Linked DNA regions of Homo sapiens: region 1 is linked to region 2. The links are contacts of gene promoters, found by promoter capture Hi-C in human tissues and cell types (Jung and others, 2019). All regions are on one chromosome and are shown on one strand. Each heading gives the region's core, a stretch centred on a gene start or on the middle of the fragment in contact. The rest is flanking DNA. Distances are from core to core; before and after follow the strand shown. Region 1 overlaps DNAI2 (dynein axonemal intermediate chain 2). Region 2 holds the start of GPRC5C (G protein-coupled receptor class C group 5 member C).

Region 1 (3,570 bases), core at 238-2,737, 130 kb before region 2:
AAAGTAGAACAGGCTTATCTTTTATTTTTATTTATTTTTATTTTTTGTTTTGTTTTTGAGACAGCCTTGCTTTGTTGCCCAGGCTGGAGTGCAATGGCATGATCTCAGCTCACTGCAACATCTGCCTCCCAGGTGCGAGTGATTCTCATGCCTCAGCCTCCTGAGAAGCTGGGATTACAGGTGCCTGCCACCACGCCCAGCTAATTTTTTTGTGTTTTTAGTAAAGATGGGGTTTCATCATGTTGGCCAGGCTGGTCTTGAACTCCTGACCACAAGTGATCCACCTGCCTCAGCCTCCCAAAGTGCTGGGATTACAGGTGTGAGCCACCAGGCCTGGCCTATTTTTATTTTTTGAGACAGGGTCTTGCTCTGTCACCCAGGCTGGGGTGTAGTGGCACGATCATGGCTCACTGCAGCCTCAACCTCCCAGGCTCAAGCAATTCTCCCACCTCAGCCTCCCGAGTAGCAGGCAGCCTCCCGAGTAACAGCCTCCCGAGTAGCATGTGCCACCATGCCCAGCTAGGTTTTAAATTTTTTGTAGAGACGGGGTCTCACTATGTTGCCCAAGCTGCTCTTGGATTCCTGGGCTCAAGCAATCCTTTTGCCTCGGCCTCCTAATGCGCTAGGATTACAAGCATGAGCCACTGTGCTTGGCTGAGCAGGCGTATCTAAGAAAACATATTTCTGGGCCAGCTGAGTTCAGGGAAAATGCCTTGAACTTGGAGAAATACTAAGTCAAAGCTTACGAGCTAAGTACTTTTGTTATTTTACAAAACGGCCTTTCCTAGAAACAGCTCTGAGTGACAGGGTGAGCCCTCATTGTGCATTCATGGGAAAATGGAAACGAAATCTAACAGGACAAAGGACAGATAACCTTTCCATCTTTCTTGGCAAAGCACTAATAACAGATCACAGTAAAGGCTAAAGCTCCTCTGTGAGTTTCTTTCCAACAGAGGCAGCAGAGGTACAAAGGATAAGAGGAAATGGGCTAATGTAGCAGAGAGATTCACCTAAATGGAGTCTTTCCACGTGCTTTTCCCTACGTTAGGGACTCGGCTCTCCTCTCGCCTGGCTCCCTCCATCCTGAGGCTCATCTTCCATCTCAGCTACCTGTCACTTCCTCCAGGAGGCCTTCCCTGACCACCCTCATGTGTTCCCCTGCCACTATGCCTGTCCTATCCCCAGAGGCTTGCCCAGGGCCAAGTGTTGGGTAGGGAGTCAATGCCTGGGAGGGGCTCAAGGAACTGAATGAAGCTTGCACTCTGGGAGTCTCTCCAGAGAGTCTGTAGAGGCTGGTAGGAAACTCAGGCTGATTTGAACCAAGCCCTGATTCTAGAAAACCACATACCTGCCAAACCAGAAGCAGCAGCCCCCTCTCTCCCCTGCTCCCTGCCCTAAGGAAGGAAGCCTGTGCCCCCTTCCACTCCTTCTTCATCTCCTTCCTCACCAGCCTGCTGGGACACCCGAAAGGGCAGCCTGGTGGCGGAGCTATCCACCATTGAGTCCAGCCACCGAGACCCTGTGTATGGCACCATCTGGCTGCAGTCGAAGACGGGCACCGAGTGCTTCTCAGCTTCCACGGATGGGCAGGTACCCACCAGCCAGACACTGGAGAGAGGAGGGAAGGGAGGGGCAGTAACTGTTCCCTGGTTCCCCATCAGAACCCCTGGGGACATTTCCTTTAACACATTTTATTTTGAGATGGAGTTTCACTCTTGTTGCCCAGGCTGGAGTGCAATGGCACGATCTTGGTTCACTGCAACCTCTGCCTCCCGGGTTCAAGCAATTCTCCTGCCTCAGCCTCCCAAGTAGCTGGGATTACAGGCGCCTGCCACTATGCCTGGTTAATTTTTTATTTTTAGTAGAGATGGTGCTTCACTATGTTGGCCAGGCTGGTCTCGAACTCTGACCTCAGGTGATCCACCCGCCTTGGCCTCCCAAAGTGGTGGGATTACAGGCATGAGCCACTGCGCCCAGCCTAACACTTTATTTTTAAGTTGAGTAGTGATAATACATGCCCACGGAACAGAATCTAAAGGGTGCAAAAAAGAAAATGCCTTCCTCTCACCTCTGCCTGCACCTCCTCCCCTCCCTCCCTCTCTTATGTCTGCCTTCAGAGCTAGTCTCTGCGTATGCAAGGAAACACACCTCTCTCTTCTTTACTCTTTCTTTTTGCACACTTCACACACTATTCTGTACTCGATGTTTTCCATTGTGTGTACCTTGGAGATAGTTTCATATTTCATACACCGCTGCCCCATGCCTATTAATAACTGCATCATGTGGGTGTACCATAATTTATATATGGATTCTAATATTTTGTTGCTACCCCCCAAAAAATACAGCAAAGAGCATCTTTATACACAGATTGTTGCACACATGCGGGGATATATCTACAGCAGACATTGCTGGCAGTGGGACTTCTAGGTCGGAGCACACATGCATTTTTAACATTGCCGGATATTGCCTTATTGTGGGGAGTCTTGGCATATACCGATTCTTGGCCTTGCACCTGGAGGTTTTGATTCAGTAGGTCGAGGGCGAGGCCTCAGCATCTGGGTTGTATGAAGCTTGCCGGCGACTCTGATGATCAGCCAGGTGTGGGAACTGTGGACAGAACAGCAATCCTCAAAGTGTATTTGCTCCCACGAATTGCCGGGAGCTCCATCCTTTGTGGCCCAGTGGCTGACCCCAGGACGGTGGGGTGAGGGCGGAGAAGGCAAAAGCCAGGGGAAATACAGGGCCTCGAAGTCTCACTGTCGCCCCTCCTCCCACCAGGTCATGTGGTGGGACATCCGAAAGATGAGCGAGCCCACTGAAGTTGTGATCTTGGACATCACCAAGAAGGAACAGTTGGAAAATGCCTTGGGGGCCATCTCCCTGGAGTTCGAATCTACTTTGGTGAGTGTCCCTTGCTGTCCCTTCCCCGACTTGCATTGACAGGGCAGCCAGGGCTAAAGACAGGCCATTGCTAGGATATCAGGTGCTCGTGGAACCCAGCACCAGCCCAGGGAGGCCACCCTCACTGCAGCCATCCTAGACGTGTGTGGCCTTTACAACAACTTTCCAGCAGGGGGCAGCAGAGCTTCTCGAAGAAGGACACCATAGTCATCATGGCACCAAGTCATCTTTTGGCCAGTGGCCCAGCTGAACACAGAGGGCAATCTTTTGACAGAACAATTCCAGAAAAGCCCTGTTTTGTGGGGAAGGTCACGCCCAGGACCAACATCGGGAGGCCTGGACTCCAACCCAGGTCCTGGCCCTGCCTGGCACGGGGTCCCTAGGCTGGTCACCTGCCTTCCTCTGGGGAAGGAAGAGGTACTGGAGAGGAAAATGAGGTCAAAGCAGGCTCCTTGGAAAACCAGAGCACAAGCATGGTCTCGGTGTTCAGTCACTGAGAATGACAAAGAAATATCAAAGTTCAGGTCGGGCAGGGTGGCTCACGCCTGTAATCCCAGCACTTTGGGAGGCCAAGAATTTAAGACCAGCCTGGGTACATAATGAGACCCCCCCCACCGCCCGCCCAGTCTTTACCAAGAAAGAAAGAAAGAAAGAGAGGGAGAGAGAGGG
Region 2 (3,402 bases), core at 450-2,949:
TGCCTTTCTAGCGTTGGCACTCAACTGCTTGGACCCTACAAGCGTTTGCCTCCCTGGCATGGGGGCCTCTGAATCTTAGGGTGGGAGGTGGAGCTACGGAAGGGAGCCCAGGAGTGAGCAACAGATCAGCAGCAGCACTGCGCCCCTCTTCTTAATATTGAAGAGACTTGAAACAATTCAGTCTTCGCCACCCCAGACCAGCCCGTGAGGGCAAGGCCAGGAAGGGATACAGGGTTCTAGAGAACCAGGGCCTCACCGCCAGCTCCGGCCGCTAAGCAAACATTCCCTCCAGGAGTCCGAGAAGCCGGTGTGCGAGGGGAGGAACCAGCCTGAGGTTTATCGCTCCAGCAACTCCGGGTGATTCATAGAGTTTAGACTCCCGGTTGTCGTAGACCGCGGCAGGCACGCAAACAAGCAGCCCGGGAGATACCCTCCCCTTTCCCAGCCCCCGCTCCTCCACCTTGCTACCCCCTAGCCCGTGACCAGCTGCCTCCCCTCCCCCTCGCGGGCGCTCAGGGTTGAGCAAACACTCCGGGCCGCCCGCCCCGCCACCAGCTGGCTCCGACCGGCGCACCGCTGGCGATCCCCCAGGCAATTCGGCGTCATGAGAACCGGCACCCCGAGACTCGGCGCCCTGCCCTCCCTCCGCGTCTCCAGGGCCCTGGCCAGGCCCAACAACCTCTCCCTCCTCTGTGCGCCTCAGCCCCTACGGGCCTCTGGCGCGGGCTAACTAGGCCTCGCTGCGGGCCCCCAGGACTGCGCACCCCACCCCCCGCGAGGCCAGCAGCCCCGGGGGAAGGCGGCCGGAAAATCTCTTGTTTATCGGGCTGGATAAGTACCAGCCTGGATTCGCTTCCCAATTTCTGCGGTCCAGCTTCAGCAGATTCCTGGGGCCGGAGGGGAAAGGGTGGCAACCCACAGATCCACCCCGGAACAGGGAGTGGGGGGTGGGGCTGGTGGGAACCTGACCTCCTGGAAAGGACGGACTCGGAGTCAGAGCCAACGTGTCCCGGAGCGCAGAGGCCCAGGGGGTCGCGCTAAACACTGTACCTCGGGGAACAAAACCGTGAAGGCTAATTAGGACAAGTCGGAGCAGGGAACGGGGACGCCGGGAGGGGAGAGCGCGCTCCGAGTTGGGCAGAACCTGGAACGGTCACAGGAAACCCGGGCGCGGGGTAGTCGGGCCGAGGGGGACCTTTGCCCACGGTCCAGAGTGGTCTGGACTCGGCCCACGCGTGAGAGGAGCGCTTGGTGACGATCCCACGTACGCTTGGTGACTGGTGGAGGTCCCAGAGAAGGACCGTGCGTGCAAAAGGCGAACCTCGGTGTGCGGTGTGTCCACGTGTGCAAGCTGGGGAGGGGAGGGGGCGCAGAAGGCGTGACAAAGACGGACTCTGTCTTGAGTGTGCGCCTCGCTCCGGCCCGCTCCCAGCGAACTGTGCCTGAAGTGTGTCTCACGGGAGGGCCAGGACGAAGGTGACAAAGGCTAGGTGTCCCCCACGGAGACGCGCCAAGGTAGCCCCGCGCGTGTCCGTAGGCGCGCTCTCTGGAAGACGCGGTGGGGGGTGCGCAGGGCTGCACCCTCACACCAATTGCCCCGGCGAAGGCCGAGCCCAGAAAGTGAGTGCGCGTGAGTGTGCGCGCGCCCGCATGCGGGGGCGTGGCAGTCAACAGCAACAACCCACACGCCGGCAGGGCCAGAAACTCCCATCTCCCTCACCAGCCGGAAAGTACGAGTCGGCTCAGCCTGGAGGTGAGTCGGGGCGGGGAGGGCCGGGCAGGCTTTGTTCCTGTGTAAACGGAGCGCACGTACCTGGAGCGCGGCGGGCGCCCGATTAGCGCCCTGAATGGAGGTGATGTAACGGTGATGCAGGCTCCAGCCCACCCTCGCCGAAAGCAAGGAGCCCTGCCTGGGGACAGGCCCGCGCGAGAGCGAGCAACCCAGCGCGCCTGGCTCAGCCTCGGTCCCAGGGAGAGGCAGGCCCTGCGTCCCGGCCCGGGCCCCGCCATCCCAGCCAGGACCGGGCCTGGCCCAGCGCCCCGCGCCGCGTCCCTCCCACCCCCGCCCGCCCCCCGCCTGGGGCTGGAGTTGGCCCCAAACGCTGCGCTGGAGCGGGGCCGGCGGCGAGTCCCAGGTAAGGGCTGCTGCCTTCCCGCTCCGCCGCCCGGAAGAGTCGGGTCGGGACGGCGGGGAGTGGGCGAGGGCAGAGGCGGGGGGACTGGACATCCTGCGGGCTGGGGACGCCGCGCCAACTCCGCTCGGTCGCTGAAAGTTTTCAAACCCGAGCCGGCTGGGGACTGGGGGGGTGGGGGAGCCCGGCGCTGCGGCTCGGGCTGGAGGGAGGGGAAACCACTCCATAATCGGGGTCTCCAAGAGGAGCCCCTCCACCGCCTGCCTCTCGGTGGGAGTCCGCGGTCACTCTCTCTCGTGGGTGGCGTCCTCTCTGCCGCCTGCTACTGTGGATGTGGAGGGCAGGTTTCTGTGGCCCTAAAAATGGGAGAGAGTGACTGGTTCCCTTGCTCCCCATTCCAGCCACCCAGGGAGCGCAGGTGTAGACCCCAGTACCGTCGACCCAAGTAGGGACGAGAGGGTTCAGAATCCCCCTGAGGGAAGTTTGGAAATTCAGACTATCAAAGCGCCTCCCCTTCTGGTAGCCTGGCCCCTAGATCCCGAACCCCCACTCCCGGCTGGCTTTTCCAGCGTCCTTTGCACCTCCATCCCCAGGCCCGCAGTGTTACACGCTGGAAGACCCAATCACTTACAAACTCCACGATCAAGATCCTAAAGCCCGGGAGAGGAGACTGTTGGAAGTAGGGTTTTGTGCTCCTGGAGCTTCCTCTCCCCGCCGGCCCCCCACCCCTGTGCCTTCAACTGGACTGGGGGAGGGAGTGCATTGGGGGGTGGGGCGCATTCCAGAGTGACATTCCAGAGCAGACCCTTGAAGATTTCCAAGTCTCAGAGAGCTCAGGGCATTTTGGCCCAAATGCCTGGTCTTGGTGCGGGGCAGGGGCAGGGGGATAGGGGTGGGGTGTCTAGGCTGAGGTTCGAGGAACCCCAACCCACCCCCCACCAACCTACACACTGAGGCCGCTCCTTCCAGGCACAGGCGTCTCCTGTGCGCCTTCTTATCGATGGGGTAAACGCCTGAGCGCCCTGCACAGAGGGGTGAGACAGTGGGACCTAACCAGGGACTGGGAGAGACCGATAGGAGTGGAGGCAGGAAGGCTGTCAGTCGGGCCATCGTCTTTCCCTATAGGCTCTTGAGTGTGTGGGATGGGAGGAAGGCAAGTGCTCTGTGGTATCCCTGGGGGAACCTCCCTGAAGAGTGCCCTGGTCACAGCACCCTTGAAGACAGCCATTGGCCATGGGTCAGTGTTGAGTTTGGTTGGCCCTGTGACGCG

Evidence for each region. The method cuts DNA at HindIII sites, captures the fragments that hold promoters and counts their contacts. A contact is called where the count stands out against the background at its distance.
Region 1: a fragment that was not itself captured here is called in contact with the fragment with the promoter of GPRC5C in region 2 in 4 of the 25 tissues and cell types used here (H1 embryonic stem cells, dorsolateral prefrontal cortex, spleen and 1 more).

The regions. Positions count from the first base shown.
Region 1 is chr17:74,298,268-74,301,837 of GRCh38, forward strand. It overlaps DNAI2 (dynein axonemal intermediate chain 2), which reads left to right. Exons shown (of 14, transcript NM_023036.6): 7 at 1,451-1,590; 8 at 2,779-2,901. Among named protein-coding and RNA genes, the nearest start is that of DNAI2, 26 kb to the left of the region's middle. The HindIII fragment of the contact is 3,967 bases long and covers 1-3,471 here.
Region 2 is chr17:74,430,389-74,433,790 of GRCh38, forward strand. GPRC5C (G protein-coupled receptor class C group 5 member C) reads left to right here and starts at 1,700. Exons shown (of 4, transcript NM_022036.4): 1 at 1,700-1,753. RefSeq lists a silencer at 573-712. The HindIII fragment of the contact is 9,677 bases long and covers 1-2,143 here.